6 separate regions of the Homo sapiens genome follow, and regions 1, 3, 4, 5 and 6 are each linked to region 2. Evidence: promoter capture Hi-C in 16 types of primary human blood cells and fetal thymus (Javierre and others, 2016). All regions are on one chromosome and are shown on one strand. Each heading gives the region's core, a stretch centred on a gene start or on the middle of the fragment in contact. The rest is flanking DNA. Distances are from core to core; before and after follow the strand shown. Region 1 has its middle 9.2 kb from the start of MLLT1. Region 2 holds the start of ACSBG2 (acyl-CoA synthetase bubblegum family member 2). Region 3 overlaps RFX2 (regulatory factor X2). Region 4 has its middle 5.1 kb from the start of ACER1. Region 5 overlaps MLLT1 (MLLT1 super elongation complex subunit). Region 6 holds the start of PSPN (persephin).

Region 1 (3,096 bases), core at 84-2,583, 150 kb after region 2:
ACCCCAAGGATCCTGCAACATTTTTGAGGGCTCGTCCAGGATCTGCAGAAGGGTGAGTGAAAGGGTGAGTAAAAGCAGATCTGCTCTTTCTGTCCCTTTTTAGGAGTCCCTAAACTCAACAATAGCTAAAATGAAAGAAAAACACCAGGCCTCTATTAGCCAGTTAAAATTAACTAGCAGAGATGCTGGACTTAAAACATGGATGATAGCCTTGCTGGGGAGGACACTGTCAATCCCTCATCATCCTCAAGTGTTGAGAATGTTGGGTTTGTTTCAATCCCGTTTCCTTCCATGAGGTCTACCTGTTACATGGGACCAGAAGGAGGTCCTGGGGCAACTGAGGGTATCTGGCTGAGGCTATGCCTCAGTGTTATCCAAAGGCCCCTGGACTAACTCCTGAAACTCAAGTCCCTAAGCGCCCATTAGGGTGTTGTTGGCACTAGGACCTCCAGTCTCCTATCTTTCTTTCTTTCATGGTTGTCAAGGTTCTTATCTCTTCTTTTTTTTTTTTTTTTTTGAGATGGAGTCTTGCTCTGTCGCCCAGGCTGGAGTGCAGTGGCATGGCATGATCTTGACTCCTGACCTTAGGTGATCCACCCACCTTGACCTCCCAAAGTGTTGAGATTACAGGCATGAGCCACTGCACCCAGCTCCTATCTCTTCTTTATATACAACATTAAATTTCTGTGCGCACGCGTGTGTGTGTGTGTGTGTGTGTGTGTGTGTTTGAGACAGAGCCTTGCTCTGTCGCCCAGGCTGGAGTGCAGTGGTGTGATCTTATCTCACTGCAACATCTGCCTCCAAAGTAGTTGGGATTTCAGGCATGCACCACCATGCCTGGCTAATTTTTGTATTTTAATAGAGATGGGGTTTCACCATGTTGGGCAGGCTTGTCTTGAACACCTGACCTCAGGTCATCCACCTGCCTCGCCCTCCCAAAGGGCTGGGATTACAGGTATGAGCCACCGCATCCAGCCTACAATGTTAAATGTTAAGAATGTTGCTGCAAAACAGAGAAATTACTGGATAGAATGAGCATTTGGCTTAGTCATCAAAAGTATAAAATGGAAGGTTAAGAGTAGCACAGATGAGCAAAGTGTGCCTTGGTATCTGTACATAATTTTGTGGGAAAAATGTTATTGTCATTTCCTTGGTTGCCATCTTGGTGCAAGGCACCTTGAGGCACAGAACAGAAGCATGGCCTCAGGAAGGAAGCTTTTCTGTAAACACAAGGGCAAATAAATGGTCCAAGGTCCCATACATGCAGGCCTTCTTTGCCTTGCAGGGTAATCTGGACCTTTGCCAACATTGTAGGATTGATTCAGCTGTCCTAATGGCCTTCTCAGGAGAAGCTGCAAGGGGTAATCCCAGAGAAATAGGGAAGCATACCCCAGAGGTACCTCCAGCAGGGGAATCAATCCCCTCAACTCCTCCCTATCCAGGTTCTCTCTCAAGCTTGCCCCGGCATAGTAATCCTTGTTTAAGGCAGGTCCCAGTCTCAACTGCCCAAAAACAGATGCCTGGTGAATATGGTCCCATTGAAGTTCAGTTTTCCTTTTCTCTATAGAACTTAAGGCAAATTTAAGGGGAGATCTTGGCAAGTTTTCAGATGGCCCTCACAGGTATATAGAGAGTTTCCAGAACTTAACCCAAGTATTTGAGCTCTCCTGGAAAGATGTCATGTTACTCTTGTTTTTGTTTTTGTTTGAGATGGGGTCTCACTCTGTCATCCAGGCTGGAGTGCAGTGGCACTCTCTTGGCTCACTGCAACCTCCACCTCCCAGGTTCAAGTGATTCTCCTGCCGCAGCCTCCCAAGTAGCTGGGACTACAGGCATGCACCACCACACTGGCTAATTTTTATATTTTTAGTAGACATGGGGTTTTACCATATTGGCCAGGCTGGTCTCAAACTCTTGACCTCAAGTGATCTGCCCACCTTGGTATCCCAAAGTGCTGGAATTACAGCCATGAGCTGCACCCGGCTTCATGTTACTTTTGAATCAAACCCTGACCACCACTGAAAAGCAGGCCACCCTGAAAGTGGCACAGAATTTTGGGGATGAGCTTTATATCTTATATAGGGCCAGGGAAGGGGATGAGACTTATCTGATTGGAAGAATAGCAGTACCACTGAAGAACCCTAAATGGGACCTCAATGATGAGACAAAAGAATGGGGCCAGGCGTGGTGGCTCACACCTGTAATCCCAGAACTTTGGGAGGCTGAGATGGGCGGATCATGAAGTCAGGAGATCAAGACCATCTTGCCCAACATGGTGAAACCCCATCTCTACTAAAATACAAAAAAAATAGCCAGGCATGGTGGTGCACACCTGTAGTCCCAGCTACTTGGGAGGCTGAGGCAGGGAATCACTTGAGCCTGGGAGGCAGAGATTGCAGTGAGCTGAGATCATGCCACTGCACTCCAGCCTGATGACAGAGCAAGACTCTGTCTCAAAAAAAAAAAAAAAAAAGAAAATGGAAAAGGAGGCCAGGCACGGTGGCTCACACCTGTAATCCCAGCACTTTGGAAGGCCGAGGTGGGCAGATCACGAGGTCGGGAGTTCTAGACCAGCCTGACCAACATGGTGAAACCCCATCTCTACTAAAAATACAAAAATGAATTAGCCAGATGTGGTGGCACATGCCTGTAATCCCAGCTACTCAGGAGGCTGAGGCAGGAGAATAACTTGAACTTGGGAGGTGGAGGTTGCAGTGAGCCGAGATCATGCCACTGCACTCCAGCCTCGGCGACAGAGCAAGACACCATCTCAAAAAAAAAAAAAAGAATGGAAGAGGAAACACTTTCAGGTGTGCATACCAGAGGGCATACGAAGGACTAGGACAAAGCCTCTCAATTACACTAAGCTATCCATGGTAGACAGGGATTAAGCGTGAGTCCCACTGCCTTCCTGGAAAGGCTAAGAGAGGCCTTGGTAAAACACACCTAAGTCCTGATTGAGGAGAGGGACATCTGATCCTAGAGGATGAGTTTATGACACAGTCAGGCCCTGATGTCAGGAGGGAGCTTCAGAAACAGGCTGCAGGGCCAGATGGTACTTTGGAGGGCCTCCTGGGAGTGGTCACCTTAGACTTT
Region 2 (3,135 bases), core at 607-3,106:
GAGGCTGCTCCTGATCCCAGGATTCTACTGGATGGGGGGTTGGGGAAGGGTGTCACCTCCTTTCCTTTATAGGCATGACCAGGCATGGCCCCCACCACTTATGCCCACATCCCACAGGGCAGGATGTAGTCACATGGACACGCCATGCAGTCAGGGGGCCTGGGAAACATTCTCTCTCTTTAGGTGAGAGCTCTGGGGAAGAAGGGCTGAATGGACATTGGTGGACACTGGCTGTCCTGGCACAGCTGCCCAGGTGCTCTGCAGAGTAGATATTTGTGAAACATTAAGAAGGCCCTGGTGGCCAGGTGCGGTGGCTACACCTGTAATCCCAGCACCATGGAAGGTTGAGGCGGGTGGATCACCTGAGGCCACGAGGTGGAGACCAGCCTGGCCAACATGGTGAAAACCCATCTCTACTAAAAATACAGAAAATTAGTCGGGAGTGGTGGTGCATGCCTGTAACCTCAGCTACTTGGGAGGCTGAGGCAGGAGAATCGCTTGAACCCGGGAGGCAGAGGTTGCAGTGAGCCAAGATCACGCTATTGCACTCCAGTCTGGGCAACAAGAGCCAAACTCCGTCTCTCTCTCTCTCTCACACACACACACAAAAGGCCCTGGAGACAAAGGAACACTCCTTGTCCTTTTCTCCTGGCACAGCACAAGATTCTGTTGCTACATCTTTATTTACTGAGCATCTAGTATGTGCTGCACCTGGCACTGTTTTGTCTTTTTTGTTTTGAGACAAGGTCTTGCTCTGTAGGCCTGGCTGGAGTGCCATGGTACCATCACAGCTCACTGCAGCCTGGAACTCCTGGGCTCAAACAATCCCCCCACCTCAGCCTCCCTACTAGCTGTGGTTACACTTGCGCACCACCACGCCCGGCTAATTTTTTAAATTTTTCTGTAGAGACGGGGTCTTACTACATTGCCCAGGCTGGTTTTGAACTCCTGGCCTCAAGTGATGCTACGGACTTGGCCTCCCAAAGTGCTGGGATTCCAGGCACAAGCCACTGTGCCTGGTAGTGGACATTGTTAGCAGTGACTAAAGCAGAGAACGAGAAGGGGGAGGCCGCTGTAAACACATGAAGACAGGCAGCGTAAGAGAAAGTCACGAGGGCAGGAATAACATCCAGGCATACTTCAGATCCCAGCTCAAGAAACCACTCCCAGGCCAGGCGCGGTGGCTCACGCCTGTCATCTCAGCACTTTGGGAGGCCAAGGCGGGCGGATCACAAGGTCAGGAGTTTGAGACCAGCCTGGCCAACATGGCGAAACCCCGTCTGTACTAAAAATACAAAAGATTAGCCGGGCGTGGTGGCGGGCGCCTGTAATCCCAGCTACTCGGGAGGCTGAGGCAGGAGAATCGCTTGAACCTGGGAGGCAGACGTTGCAGTGAACTGAGATCGCACCATTGCACTCCAGCCTGGGTGACAGAGCAAGACTCCCGTCTCAAAAAACGAAAGAAAAGAAAGAAACCACTCCCAGACTCCCTGCCTGGGCGGGATCCTTTGATCAAGCCCTCAACATGCCTTGGGGCTCTCTTCACAATGGTAAGTTTGCATTTGTTTGTGTGATTCTAGGCCTCCTCTTATTTTCTTGAACAGGCCTCATCTGGCTTTGTTCATCTTTATGTCTCCAGCATCCAGCACAATCCCTGCCATTAGGGTCATGGCTTCATAAAAACGTCACGAATGCAACGCAGAAGTGCATGCATGCATGAATAAATGAATGATGCATGAAAAGAGCAATCTCCCTGTCCTGGAAGCAGCTTCCCCTAGGGGTGGGGGTGGGGTGCGGAGGCAGGGGCAGCCAGTGATGTCACAAGAGGTGGCTGGGATGGAACGTTCTGGAAGGTTGAATGGGGTAGAAGGCCTGTTGTGGAGGGAAACCACCCATCCTCCTGCCTCCCACCACCACCATCATCCTGGCTGGACGGAGAGGGTGACGGGGGCTGGGAAGGGGCAGCTCATGTTCAGGTTTCCAGGAGGGGCTACCTGTTGACTGTCTTTGCAGGAAGAAGAAAACACCTGAGTGACCAGATGTCCCAGCTCCAGGTGCCTTGCCAGATGGCCAGAACCACACCTCTTGAAGAGTGACAGGTGCCAGTGGTATGGGAGAAGGGCATGCGTTTTCTTTTCTTTTTTTTTTGAGACAGGGTCTCACTCTTTTGCCCAGGCTATAGTGCAGTGGCACGATCTCAGCTCACTGCAACCTCTGCCTCCCAGGCTCAAGTGATACTCCCACCTCAACCTCCCAAGTAGCTGAGATTACAGGCGCCTGCCACCATGTCCAGCTAATTTTTTTTTTTTTTTTGAGACAGAGTCTTGCTCTGTTGCCCAGGCGCAATCTCGGCTCACTGCAAGCTTCGCCTCCCAGGTTCACACCATTCTCCTGCCTCAGCCTCCTGAGTAGCTGGGACTACAGGTGCCTGCCACCATGCCCGGCTAATTTTTTGTATTTTTTAGTAGAGATGGGGTTTCACCACATTAGCCAGGATAGTCTCAATCTCCTGACCTCGTGATCCACCCGCCTTGGCCTCCCAAAGTGCTGGGATTACAGGCGTGAGCCGCCATACTCGGCCTAATTTTTATATTTTTAGTAGAGATGGGGTTTCGCCATACCAGCCAGGCTGGTCTTGAACTTCTGACCTCAGGTGATCCACCCGCCTCGACCTCTCAAAGTGCTGGGATTATAGGCACGCGCCACCATGCCCAGCTAATTTTTGTATTTTTAGTAGAGATGGGGTTTCACCATGCCAGCCAGGCTGGTCTCGAACTCCTGGCCTCAAGCGATCCACCCGACTCAGCCTCCCAAAGTGCTGGGATTACAGGTGTGAGTCACCACATCTGAACCCTACATGGCCTTTTAAAATTGTGAAACATATAATGCATATAAAATAACACAAAGCATATCTGTACGATTTAATGAATAACGATAAATATCTGTGTGCCCTTTTCACTTCGTGAAATCGAATATTACTAGTAACTTACAAGTCCTCTGTAGAGAACTCCTGAGCTCAAGTGATCCACCTGCCACGGCCTCCCAAAGTGCTGGGATCACAGGTGTGAGCCTCCGCACCCGGCCGATCGTGTGATTTTTAACGTGCAGTTCCCTGATGACCAAAGCTACTGAGCA
Region 3 (3,317 bases), core at 561-3,060, 130 kb before region 2:
ACGCAGGGCCTGAAATAAGCATAGCTCGGAAGCTGCTGTGGGCCGACACTTTGCCAAGCCCAGGGGACAGAGCCAGGAAAATGGCCACAGGGAGGTCAACGTGGTGCCACGATCCTGGAAGCTGGGGGCCTTTGTGAGGAAAATGAGCAGAAGTGTTGGCCACAGCGCCTGGACGCCAGAGGGCCCTGAGAGATGATGGAGTGGAGAGAGCTGGGGGCTGTGGGTGGGCTTTGGCCTGGGACCCGTGTCATGCAACAGAACCGTGGCCAGGCTCGGGGCAGGGGCCAGGTTGTGCCACGGGCTCCACTTGGTGGGTTTGCTGGTTTTGCTGGAGGGCGGGAAGCCCGGGCCCTGGGGACGGTGTGGAGGAAGTCACCTGCACGTTGGCAAAGTCCACGCGGTTGAGGTCGCTGAGCATCTGGTTGATCTGGGACGTGTTCTGCAGCACCGCCCGGGCCGCCTGCGCCAGGTGGTTGAGGGACGTGTAGCGCCGCAGCGTCTGGGCGAAGGCACTGACGACGCCCACCTGTAAGCCAGGGCTCGTGGTGAGCAGGGGTTCGCAGGGAGAGCCTGTTCCGCTGCGCTCCTTGCAGGGGTGTGTGGGCTCAGGGACAACACAGGGAGGAGGGAGCAGGAAACAGCAACCTGGGCAGGGAAGAGGGAACCTCCTGCTATTCTTAAGGACCCAGTGTGTGAGAATCAGTGAAGAGGAGACCTCGCCGGCACATCACACACGTCGCTAACTGAGGCCTGCGTGCTGCTGAGTTAGAATTCACAACTGTCGCCATGCCCACTTCTAGAGTCCCTGTGGTTCTCTGGAGGGGCTGTTGAGACCACAGACTCCTGAGTGCTACAGGATCAGACTTTTAGTGGGTGTGGCCTGGGAATCTTATTTTTTTTAAGAGATGGGGTCTTGCTTGTTGTTGCCCAGGCTGGTCTCAAACTCGTGGCATCAAATGATCCTCCAGTCTCTGTCTCCCAAAGTGCTGGGATTACAGGTGTGAGCCACTGCACCGGCCCTGAATGTGACTTTTTAACAATGACCTGATCAATGCTTGCATCACTGCCTAACAGATCAATTCCGAAGAGCAGGCGGGTGCCCTGCAGCTGCCTCCTCTCACCCAAGAGCCCTTCAGGAAATGCTCATGATGGCTGGGTGAGGTGGCTCACACCTGTAATCCCGGTACTTTGGGAGGCCAAGGCAGGTGGATCGCCTGAGGTCAGGAGTTCGAGACCAGCCTGGCCAACATGGCGAAACCCTGTCTCTACTAAAAATACAAAAAAATTAGCCAGGTGTGGTGGCGGGCACCTGTAATCCCAGCTATTCGGGAGGCTGAGGCAGGAGAATCGCTTGAACCCGGGAGGCAGACGTTGCAGTGAGCTGAGATAACACCATTGCACTCCAGCCTGGGCGACAGAGTGAGACTCTGTCTCAAAAAAAAAAAAAAAAAAAAAAAAAAAAAAGAAATGCTTGTGAGAACGGTGGGTAATCACTCTCTTTTCCACAAGTCGGCCAAGGTTCTACATTTCAAATTCGACTGATTTGTGGCCAAGATTGCAGCAATAAGGGTCACAGCAAGGAGATTAAATTTCCCGAATAAGATGAGCACAGAAACACGCAATCTGTTCTGAATTGACCCAAAGATGTGACATCAAATGACATCTTCTGTTGTTCCCCTTCCTGCCAGCACTGACGCGTCACCGGCAGTGTGCTCAGGGCTTCCTGAAGGGATCGGTTACTCTCATGACGCAGGGAAGAAGCCAGCGCTCTCTGGGACACAGTGGTCCTCATGCTGTCCTGGACTGGAGCCCCTCCCAGCCATCGTTGGGGAGCCCAGGCCCCACCCCGGACGCACCTTGGTCTGGATGACCTGTTGTGGGAAGTCACTCATGGCATTTGTCAACCAGCCTTCCAAGCTCTTGGCAAAGTTACGGATGGCCTGTGTCAAGGTACCTGGGGGATACAGACCATGATATTACCAGGGAGAAAGGCAGTGACTGGACCCTGGAAATCAGCATTCAGTGTAAGAGCTGGCCCAAGTGCGATGAAAATGACCACCATGAAGAACGAGCCACACAGGCGACGGGGAACCGAGGACACTTAGAAACGGGAAGAACCAGGCATGGCCCAGCGCTGCTGGTCACCACCCACTGCCTATGCGGGTCTCACAGGGGCGATTCTGCCCCAGGGGACACTGGGCAATGTCTGGGGACGTTAATGGTGGTCATGACTGCAGGGTGCCTCAGGCATGGAGTGGGTGGAGGCTAGGGATGCTCCTCAGCACCCCACAGTGCCCAGGAGGGCCCCACCCCAGACAACGATCCAGCCCCAGATATCAACAGTGCCAAGGGAAAGAGGCCTTGACACAAACACACACACACACGTAAATACATTCTACCAACTTCCTAATTTATTTTAAAGTGGGTTAGAATAAGAAGCAAATGATCAGACTGTTAAAAAAAAAAAAAACCAAAAAACAAAAACAGAAAAAGGCCAGGTGTGGTGGCTGACGCCTGTAGTCCCAGCACTTTGGGAGGCCGAGGTGGGCGGATCACCTGAGGTCCGGAGTTCGAGACCAGCCTGGCCAACATGGTGAAACCCTATCTCTACTAAAAATACAAAAATGATCTGGACGTGGCGGTGGGTGCCTGTAGTCCCAGCTATTTGGGAGGCTGAGGCAGGAGAATCACTTGAACCCAGGAGGCAAAGACTGCAGTGAGCCTCCTGCAATCCAGCCTGAGTGACAAGAGCAAAACTCTGTCTTAAAAAAAACCAGAAAAATATTTTAAAATGCAAAAGGAAAGATACCCCAAACTCCCACCATAACATAGAAACTCAGACGAGGCATTGCCCTGAACAGTTTTCAGGCAGACAGGCAAGGCCAGGCCAAATGAGAAATGCAATACTTTTGCTGTTTCCCATCTTCCAGCAAAGGGAGCATAGAGTTTACTCAACAGGACGGAGAGCTGCCTGGTACTAACGGGCATGCATATTTGTGGATGGCCTGAGGGGCACGGTCCATGGGCCCGGATGTTTGTGGATGGACTGCGGGGCATGGCCTGTGGTCCTGATGCTGTGATTTATGAAGAGAGGCCTCTGTGCCCAGCTTCCTTGACGACCCCCAGGGTTTTGGGGAGCTTGGCACGGGCCTGGCCCGAGGGCTCCCTCGTGGTGGGTGCTGTCATTGCCTCAGGAGCTGGAGGCCCTGGGAGGTCTCCAAGGGCACGAGTGATCTCTGCCGTGGGCCTAGCTTCCTTCCTCACTGTGCCTGTCACTCTCTCCCCACCCCACCAAGTCCTGTGGGAAATCACAGGGT
Region 4 (2,895 bases), core at 357-2,856, 200 kb after region 2:
CACTTAATGACTTTGACAAAAAAGAAAAGAAAAGCCCTTCATTAGGCAACAATATTCTGTTAGAATTTAGTAACATGATTTGTTTACATTGTATTTATTTTTTGATAAGCTTGTATTCATGGTAAGCCAAATCTACTTTCCATTCACGGTAGGGTTACAAAGTTTCCTTTTTTTTTCTTTTTTTTTTTGAGATGGCGTTTGCTCTGTCCCCCAGGCTGGAGTGCAATGGCATGATCTCGGCTCACTGCAACCTCCACCTCCCAGGTTCAAACGATTCTCTTGCCTGAGCCTTCTGAGTAGCTGGGATTACAGGCGTGGACCACCCTGCCTGGCCAAAGTTTTCTTTTTCTTTTTCTTTTCTTTTCTTTCTTTCTTTCTTTTTTTTTTTTTTTTTTTTTTTTTTTTTTTTGAGATGGAGTCTTGCTCTGTCGCCCAGGCTGGAGTGCAGTGGCTCGATCTTGGCTCACTGCAAGCTCCGCCTCCTGGGTTCATGCCATTCTCCTGCCTCAGCCTCCCGAGTAGCTGGGACTGCAGGCACCCACCACCAACGCCTGGCTAATTTTTTTGTATTTTTAGTAGGGACAGGGTTTCACCATGTTAGCCAGGATGGTCTCGATCTCCCGACCTCGTGATCCACCCACCTCGGCCTCCCAAAGTGCTGGGACTACAGGCGTGAGCCACCGCGCCCAGCCCCAGAATTTTCTTTTTAAAATAATATTTTGGCCCAGTGCAGTGGCTTACACCTCTAATTCCACCGCTGCACTCTAACCTGGGCAAAAAGAGGGAAACCCTGTCTCAAAAAAAAATAGTTAATTAAATAAAATAAAAATAAAATAATAAAATAAATATGTATTTTTTAAGAGATGGAGTCTTGCTCCGTTTCCTAGGCTGGAGGGCAGTGGTAAAATCCTAGCTCACAGCAATGTCAATTTCCTGGGCTCAAGCAATCTTCTCACCTTCGCCTCCCAAGTTGCTGGGAGTACAGGTATGAGCTACTGTGCCCTGGCCAAAATAAATGTAAGTGTTACAATTGTGGTTGTGTTTGCACAGATCTATACATGTGATATTATTGCATAGATTTGCTCCCATTTTTCTGAGAAAATGAAAAGAAAATTGTCTAACACATGAATGCATGGGAAAAGCTGTTGAAATCTGAATATGGTCTATAGGTCATATTTATATCACCTTTCTGGTTGTGAAAATGTATAGTTATAAAAGAGGTACCACTGGGAGAAACTGGATGAAGATTACCTGGGATTCTTCTATATTATTATTGCAGGTTCCTGCAAGTTTATAATTATTCCATTTTTTTTAATGTGTTTGATAGAGGGTCTCACTCTGCTGCCAGGCTTGAGTGCAGTGGTGCAATCACAGGCCACTGCAGCCTCAACCTCCTGGGCTCAAGTGATCCTCACACCTTAGCCTCCCAAGTAGCTGGGACTACAGGCCAGGCAAATTTTTTCTATTTTTTGTAGAGACAGGTTCTCACTATGTCTCCCAGACTGCTCTCTAATTCCCGAGCTCAAGCGATCCTTCCACCTCAGCCTCCCAAAGTGCTAGAATTACATGTGTGAGCCACCGCACCTGGCCTTAAAATCTTTTTTTTTTTTTAAGACCGAGTCTCTTCCTGTCATCCAGGCTAGAGTGCAATGGTGCAATCTCGGCTCACTGCAACCTCCGCCTCCTGGGTTCAAATGATTCTCCTGCTTCAGCCTCCCGATAGCTGGGATTACAGGCGCCCACCACCACGTCGGGCTAATTTTTACATTTTTAGTAGAGATGGGGTTTCAGCATGTTAGCCAGGCTGGTTTGGAACTCCTGACCTCAGGTGATCCGCCTGCCTCAGCCTCCCAAAGTGCTGAGATTACAGGCATGAGCCACCGCACCCAGCCTAAAAATCTCTTTTTATAAAGGGATTGATTTAGATTTTTAATTAATACATGAATGGATAAACACAATGTGTGTGGTTCATCCATACCGTGGAATATTATTCAGCCCTGAAAAAGGAAGGAAATTCTGATACAGGCAACAACGTGGATGGACTTTGAGGACATCAAGCTGGGTGAAATAAGCCAGACATAAAAGGACAAATCCTGTGTGATCCCACTCCTAGGAGGTCCCCAAAGTCCTCAGAGTCACAGAGACAGGAAGTAGAACGGGGGGTATGAGGGGCTGGGGAGGGGGATAGGGAGTGAGTGTTTCTTGGGGACAGAGTTTCAGTTTGGAAAGATGAGAAAGTTCTGGAGGGGATGGTGGTGATGGCTGCATAGACATGCGAATGTGCTTAATGCCGCTGAACTATGCATTTGATGATTAAAATGATCAGTTTCGTGTTATGTATCTTTTACCACAATTTTACAAAGTAATGATTTAGGGTTTTTGTTTTTGTTTTTTGTTTTTTGAGATGGAGTCTCTCTCTGTTGCCCAGGCTGGAGTGCAGTGGTGCGATCTCGGCTCACTGCAAGCTCCGCCTCCCGGGTTCACGCCATTCTCCTGCCTCAGCCTCCCGATGGGACTACAGGCGCCCGCCACCACACCCGGCTAAGTTTTTTTTGTATTTTTAGTAGAGACGGGGTTTCACCGTGTTAGCCAGGATGGTCTTGATCTCCTGACCTCATGATCCGCCCGCCTCAGCCTCCTAAAGTGCTGGGATTACAGGCGTGAGCCACCACGCCTGGCCTGATTTAGGTTTTTAAAAGAGGGGTTTGGGGCTGGGCGTGGTGGCTCACACATGTAATCCCAGCATTTTGGGAGACTGAGGCAGGTGGATCACTTGAGGTCAGGGTTCAAGACCAGCCTGGCCAACATGGTGAGACACCGTCTCTACTAAAAATAAAAAAAATAAAATTAGCCAGGCGTGGTGGTGCGTGCCTGTAATCCCAGCTACTCGGGAGG
Region 5 (3,048 bases), core at 432-2,931, 130 kb after region 2:
TGGCCTTGCCCTCCTCAGTGGAGAGTCAGAAAACACTAACAAAAGCTGACCAGGTGCAAGGGTCCATCCAGTCATCAAACACTTAGTAAGCACCTACTGTATCCCTGCAGGCACCGAACATGTAGCAGCAAACAAAACTGACAGAAACCTCTGACTTGGGGTGGGGAGAGGGATGGACAAGATGAAGAAGTCATATGTACGAGATGTTAAGATGGTGCTAAGGAGAAAACCAAAGCAGAAAACAAAAAGGCTAAGAAGCATATGGCTGTGTGGGTGTATTGGGCAACGAAACCGCGATTGAGCCCAGGCAGCCAGAGGACTCCCTAAAAAGGGTGACGTGGGACTCTTCTGTGAAGGATCCCAAAGGTAAACAGGCTCACATCATCATTCAAAGTCACAAAGACAACCAACGCAAAAGCGAGTCACTGGACTATTAAAAACTTAGAGAAGACAGTGGATAAAAGGGGTACTTTGGGATAAATTCTAACCCTTCAAGCTGGTAAATCAGTAAGTATTGTCTACATTTAAAAAATCAAGAAATAAGAAGCAAATGAGCTGGTATTAAGAGGAGTCCAGAGAGGGCTAGGAAGACAGCCCCGGGGAGGGAGGACTAAGGAGGCCAGGAACAGCAACTTTGTACCTTACATGTTTCTACCCTATTTGATTTGTGATAATGTAAGCTGGGGCGGAAGTAAAAGATACTTTTTAAGTACCTCAAGTATCAATCCAGAGGCTGGAGTGCTCTAAGAGGTTCACTCCCTCTCTAAAGTTTTATTCAATGCCACAGAGTGTGAGCTGGAAATTTACTTTCTGATACATTTGATGGGGCCGCTATCTGCCTCCAGGCCCCACAGACAGACAGCAACAAACAGGGCTCAGCTACTAATTTAAAGGCCGCCTGCAAACTGACACTGAAGCCTGGCATGGTGGCACATGCCTGCCAGGAGCTCAAGACAAGCCTGGGCAACACGACAAACAAAAAACAAAACAAAACAAAAAACTAAAAACTAACCCTTAAGAGTGAGCCCCACTCACTACCCCACCTTCCAGGTACTTGGAGAAGGTGCCATGTCAACGTGGTGGGGAACAAAGGTGAAATCAACAGCCTCAAAGTGGATGGAAATCAGCGTCCGGGGCCCATCCCTGTGCTCCAGGGACAGAGAAAAGGGGAGGGGTGAGGGGGTTGGTGAAGAAGTGGAGTGGATGCCACCAGAGAAAGGAAAGAGGGCCTGGTGCAGGAGGGGCAGCCAGGCTCCTGCTCTGCCAACGTGGCACAAAAGCAGCCACAGGCAACACCTATGCGGGCGGGCATGGCCGTGCACCAATAAAAACAGGCTGCACTGGCAGTGGCCAGACCCAGCCCACAGGCCAGCCTGCCCACCCTGCTCTAAGCACAGGTAGCGGCCTGCCCCCTGGACCCGTCTCCCCGTCTGCAGAAGAGGGCTGTGGCGAGAAGAAAACGCGATCCTGCGCACGAAGCGCTGGCCAGGAAGTGCTCGATAGATGGCATGTGTCCCCACGATTAGGAAGCGGTTTATAAACATCTGCCGCTGTCAGGAGCCTCCGCGGCCATCCTCTAAGAGGCTTAGAGAGGGAGGAAGGAAAAGGGGAAAAGGTGAAGACTCAGGAAAGGAGAAATGCAGAGGGAAAGAGAAGCCGCAGGCTGAGGGAATCGCAGGTGGGCATCCCTTCAGAATGACAAGCCTCTACTGCTGTCAACGCCCATCACTTCCCCACTAGGCTGCAAACCACTTACAGGCTCAGGGCCAGGGTCCTGGGTCCCGGGTCCCGGGAAGCTCTTGCTTCAACCTAAGCACACCCACGCTTGTGCACGGCTCACCTCCCGTGGCCCCTGGAGCTCCCGGGACCCCCGTATTGCAGGGTAGAGGGGTCACCAGCCCAGCCAGGGCTCTTCCCACCCTGAAGTGCTTCCTACAGAAAGTCCCTCATTCCTTTATCAAGACATCACCCAAGAAGCATTTATCGAACCCCTGTGATGTGCCGGGCTCCGGGCTTCACACTGGCGACTCAGCGGTAAGAAAAGTAGACGCGGCCCCAGCCCTGATGGCGCTCACCAGACCACCACCTCACTCTCCGATTCCCCACCACAGCCTTTCCCTAGGGCTCACTTCCCCAGGAGGGCATCCCTGATCATAAACTGGGTGACTTCCTGCCTGTGCCCCGTCACACTGCACCCTCCAGGAAGGCCAGGGCCCCCACGCCACAGGTGGAGACGCTGACAGAATACACGACTGAGGCACTCGTGCTGAATCAATGACGGCCTGAGGCTTGAAGGGAGAGGGAAGACACGGAAAAGACAGTGGTGACATGAGCTCCGGCATTCTTTCTGCCCCAAATATTGGGAATTCTTCACATGGCACACAAACAAACATAGGCCCGGTCGGCAACTTCCTGATCACTCACCAGCCGGCTGACTTCACCTGTCCCACCCATGCCAACCTGGCTGTGCTCCCTGGCTGCTTCCCAGAGCCCGGGTCTAAATCACGACACAACAGACCGCCACCACCTCCTTCGGTTCTTCCTACGACTAACTCAACAGCTGGAGGTGACACGGCTCCAGTGCCCCCACGCCGAGGGACGCAAGCTGGAACCTCATGGTTGGAGGGGTCCTGCTGCTCCTGAGGGAGGGGTGGAGCCTGGCCTTGGGAGGAGTGAAGACAGATGGGTCCGTGCTGTGGGCACTCAGGGCTTGAGGCCACTCACCGCGTCTGGGCTTGGGGAAGCTGTCGTGCAGCCAGAAGACCACCTTCTCCACGAAGTGCTGGATGTCACATTGCTCGGGGCCGCGGACAAACACCATCCAGTCGTGAGTGAACCCCTCCGTGGTGGGCTTCTTGCGCAGTTGGGCGCGATGCCCCAGCTCTAACCTCACCTGGACGGTGCACTGGAGGAGAGAGAGGTGGGGAGATGAAGTCAGCACACGCCTCCAAGCAGGGGACTGTCCCCTTACCCACAGAGAACTTTCGATAAAGACCCCCAGCAGTGCAATACGCTCTCAACCCAGTGAGCAGCACACAGACGGCTTCC
Region 6 (3,120 bases), core at 199-2,698, 240 kb after region 2:
CGGCCTGTCTCTCCTGTCTCCCAGCGTTATGCGGCTGGTGCACACCCAGGAGCCGGGGGAGTGGCTGGAACTCTTGCTGGAGCCGGGCTCCCTCTACATCCTTAGGTACCTCCATCCAGGCAGCACCCACCCCTCCAAGAATGTGCCATCCGCCCACCCTGTGCCCTGGGTACTTTCCCTCAATCCAGCCCTCCCCGAAGACGCCTTTACCCCAGGGTCTGTGTGGGAGGCAGCAGGGGGCTGGAATCCAGGAGGCTGGAATCCAGGTCTGCCTGGAGCAGGGGCTGCCCTCCTTGCACCCAGTCACAGCCTGTTTCTTCCTGCAGGGGCTCAGCCCGTTATGACTTCTCCCATGAGATCCTTCGGGATGAAGAGTCCTTCTTTGGGGAACGCCGGATTCCCCGGGGCCGGCGCATCTCCGTGATCTGCCGCTCCCTCCCTGAGGGCATGGGGCCAGGGGAGTCTGGACAGCCGCCCCCAGCCTGCTGACCCCCAGCTTTCTACAGACACCAGATTTGTGAATAAAGTTGGGGAATGGACAGCCTAACTGGGACATTGCAGTGGCTGCTTGCTGGGGCCGGGATTTGCAGGGGAACCCAGGATGGCACTGGCCCATAGGGAGCTCCAGGTGTGGCTGGCTGGACACATGGTCAAAGTCACAAGGCCGGGAGAGTGGTGTCCTTTATTGCACTCACTGCTGGTCGCCCCAGCCCACTCCCCTCCTCGTTGTCTCTGCATCCAGGTCTCCAATAAATAAGTCAGCCGAGCTCCCCCAGCACTGCAGCTTCTGGGTGCCAGGCCGGGCACCCTCAGCCACCACAGCCGCAGGCAGCCGCCGAGAGCTGGGGCAGCCGCTGCCAGCGGTGGCGGTCATCGAGGAAGGCCACGTCGGTGTAGCGAGTGGGCCGGCAGCAGGGCCCGCCGTGGGCTCGGCCCTGGCCCTGCAGCCGGGCCAGCGCCAGGCCATGCTGGGTGCGGGCACCACGGGGGCAGCTGCCGGCGCAGTAGCGGAAGATGACCTTCTCCTCTGAGGCGTAGCCCAGGCCTAGCTCTGCCACGGACAGGGTCAGGCTCCACAGCTGGCATGGACCAGACAGGGCTCGGCGCAGGCGGGCAAGGGGGCGGTGGGTGCCTGTGGGAGGGAAGGGCGCTGACAGTGAGCAGGGTCAGGGCTGGGGAAAGTTGGGAAGTCACAGAGGGTCCCTGGAAGTCCTTACCCAGCCAGGTCCCTCCAGCCTTTGCCACCTGTTCAGACGAGAACTCTCCATCGGCCACGGGAACCCCACGGGCATCGGGGCCCCAGCCCTGTCCCAGCTGCAGGGACAGGAGCAGCAGGGAGCCCAGCAGGAACTTCCCTACGGCCATTGTGACGGGCAGGTCCTGAGAGTGGGAGCTGTGCCCCAAATTTATGCCCTGCCTGGGCTGGGAGCTAACCTCTTCACTGCCGGCCCCTGCAGCCAGGAGGCCCCACGTCTGCACCAGCCCATCTCCTGCACCCTCGAATCCAGGCATCTGCTCCTTCTGCCCCACACCCCACCCTTCTAAGAGTTAAGGGCTCACCCCCAGCCTACCCCACCCCGACATTCCACACAGCCATTTCCGACGCCCCAGACACCCCCTGATTTACGAGTGCTGTGCTGGCGGCCAGGGCAGGCAACTGGTGTTCCCCCGACCTGCTGCCTGGAGTGGAAGTCAGGGGGCTTCATGGGACCCCGGTGGGGTCCCTCCCCACTAAGTCAGGGTGCTGGGGCTCAGGAGCCCCCACGTGTATCATGTGCCAGGTGGAGCATATGTGAGTGCTGGGAAAGGTGGCTTGGCAGGGGACTGAGTCCACGGGAACCCTCCATGGTGGCTCCCGCCTGGAGGATTAGGACATCATGCCCCTGTCTCCGGGCCTGGCTGAGCCAGCATCAAAACAGGAAAAGGGAGAGGCCTGGGGACAGCCAAGGGTGGGGACACAAGGGGACAGGGACGCCTGTCTCGGGAAGGCCAACCTGAGACCCCTATAACTGCAGCCCCATCCTGGGATCTGAGCATGTCAGAGCCCCCGGGGCGATGGAGGCTGTCCAGGTCATGGTAACGTCTAGCACGATGCAGACAGATAAGGGCTCTCGAGGCTTCCATACCCAGCCCCGTGTGAGCCCAGTCCCCTCACCGGTACAGGGGAGCTCCTCAGAACCCCTCCTACTCGGCTTGGTGAGGAAAGAGATGGGCACTTAGAGTGTAAGGCAGTGCCCGTAGCTTCGAATGCAAAAACAAGCAAACAGCTTGTGATTGTCCGAAGGGGTGCTTGACTCTAAGCACCCACAAGATTGGGGAAAATCAGAAAACCCTCACACACAACCCGTGTGACCCAGGTGCACCCTGTGCTGTTGGTGGGGGTGTAAATTGCTAGCAGCTCTTTGGATGAGCAGCTGCTACTGGGGAATTGTAAATTACACCCTCTGCCCCAGGAGCCCTGTTTGCGGGGTTCCTCCCACACAGGCAAGTGAAACAGCCAGCACAGGGACATCTGATGCCTTCTTCATATTAGGAAAGTCTGGAAGTGGCCTCAACTCCATCCGTGAGGGATTGCTTCGATGATTATGTTGTGGTTTTTCTTACTGAAGTGCTTATTGAGATGATAATTTTCCGATGGAAAGAAAAGCCTGGGCTTGGCGTGGTGGCTCATGCCTCGGGAGGCTGAGGCGGGTGGATTACCTGAGGTCAGGAGTTTGAGACCAGCTTGACCAACATGGTGAAATCCATCTCTATTAAAAATACAAAAATTAGCTGGGCATGGTGGTGGGCGCCTGTAATCCCAGCTACTCGGGAGGCTGAGGCAGGAGAATTGCTTGAACCTGAGAGGTGGAGGTTGCAGTGAGCTGAGATTGTGCCATTGCACTCAAACCTGGGCGACAGAGCGATACTGTCTCAAAAAAGCCTGGCGGGGCCCAGTGGCTCATGCCTATAATCCCAGCACTTTGGGAGGGTGAGGTGGGAGGATCACTTGAGGTCGGGAGTTTGAGACCAGCCAGGCCAACATGGTGAATCCCTGTCTCTAACGAAAATACAAAAATTAGGCGAGGCACAGTGGCTCACGCCTGTAATCCCAGCACTTTGGGAGGCCGAGGTGGGCAG

The links. The method cuts DNA at HindIII sites, captures the fragments that hold promoters and counts their contacts. A CHiCAGO score of 5 or more calls a contact.
Region 1: a fragment that was not itself captured here is called in contact with the fragment with the promoter of ACSBG2 in region 2 in 3 of 17 cell types (M2 macrophages, M1 macrophages and M0 macrophages); the score reaches 9.1 in M2 macrophages.
Region 3: a fragment that was not itself captured here is called in contact with the fragment with the promoter of ACSBG2 in region 2 in 1 of 17 cell types (neutrophils); the score reaches 5.2 in neutrophils.
Region 4: a fragment that was not itself captured here is called in contact with the fragment with the promoter of ACSBG2 in region 2 in 2 of 17 cell types (M1 macrophages and M2 macrophages); the score reaches 7.3 in M1 macrophages.
Region 5: a fragment that was not itself captured here is called in contact with the fragment with the promoter of ACSBG2 in region 2 in 2 of 17 cell types (M2 macrophages and M1 macrophages); the score reaches 6.2 in M2 macrophages.
Region 6: the fragment with the promoter of PSPN here is called in contact with the fragment with the promoter of ACSBG2 in region 2 in 10 of 17 cell types (M0 macrophages, megakaryocytes, M2 macrophages and 7 more); the score reaches 9.4 in M0 macrophages.

What each region holds. Positions count from the first base shown.
Region 1 is chr19:6,287,671-6,290,766 of GRCh38, forward strand. No RefSeq gene overlaps it. Among named protein-coding and RNA genes, the nearest start is that of MLLT1, 9.2 kb to the left of the region's middle. The HindIII fragment of the contact is 240 bases long and covers 1,214-1,453 here.
Region 2 is chr19:6,133,811-6,136,945 of GRCh38, forward strand. ACSBG2 (acyl-CoA synthetase bubblegum family member 2) reads left to right here and starts at 1,857. Exons shown (of 15, transcript NM_030924.5): 1 at 1,857-2,099. All of the region lies in intron 3 of LOC105372255 (a long non-coding RNA gene), which reads right to left. RefSeq lists enhancers at 821-1,724, 1,725-2,627. The HindIII fragment of the contact is 9,635 bases long and covers 1-2,361 here.
Region 3 is chr19:6,002,345-6,005,661 of GRCh38, forward strand. RFX2 (regulatory factor X2) reads right to left here. Exons shown (of 18, transcript NM_000635.4): 13 at 1,857-1,954; 14 at 377-526. The region is part of intron 1 of RANBP3-DT (RANBP3 divergent transcript); the gene reads left to right. Among named protein-coding and RNA genes, the nearest start is that of RANBP3-DT, 26 kb to the left of the region's middle. The HindIII fragment of the contact is 5,939 bases long and covers 1-3,317 here.
Region 4 is chr19:6,337,285-6,340,179 of GRCh38, forward strand. It overlaps a transcript of ACER1 not described here. Among named protein-coding and RNA genes, the nearest start is that of ACER1, 5.1 kb to the left of the region's middle. The HindIII fragment of the contact is 2,998 bases long and covers 108-2,895 here.
Region 5 is chr19:6,267,855-6,270,902 of GRCh38, forward strand. It overlaps MLLT1 (MLLT1 super elongation complex subunit), which reads right to left. Exons shown (of 12, transcript NM_005934.4): 2 at 2,725-2,905. Among named protein-coding and RNA genes, the nearest start is that of MLLT1, 11 kb to the right of the region's middle. The HindIII fragment of the contact is 3,500 bases long and covers 1-3,048 here.
Region 6 is chr19:6,374,485-6,377,604 of GRCh38, forward strand. It overlaps PSPN (persephin), which reads right to left and starts at 1,449. Exons shown (of 2, transcript NM_004158.5): 1 at 1,218-1,449; 2 at 664-1,132. The coding sequence starts at 1,365. The coding sequence ends at 810. ALKBH7 (alkB homolog 7) reads left to right here. Exons shown (of 4, transcript NM_032306.4): 3 at 1-105; 4 at 327-766. The coding sequence ends at 489. The HindIII fragment of the contact is 10,611 bases long and covers 1-3,120 here.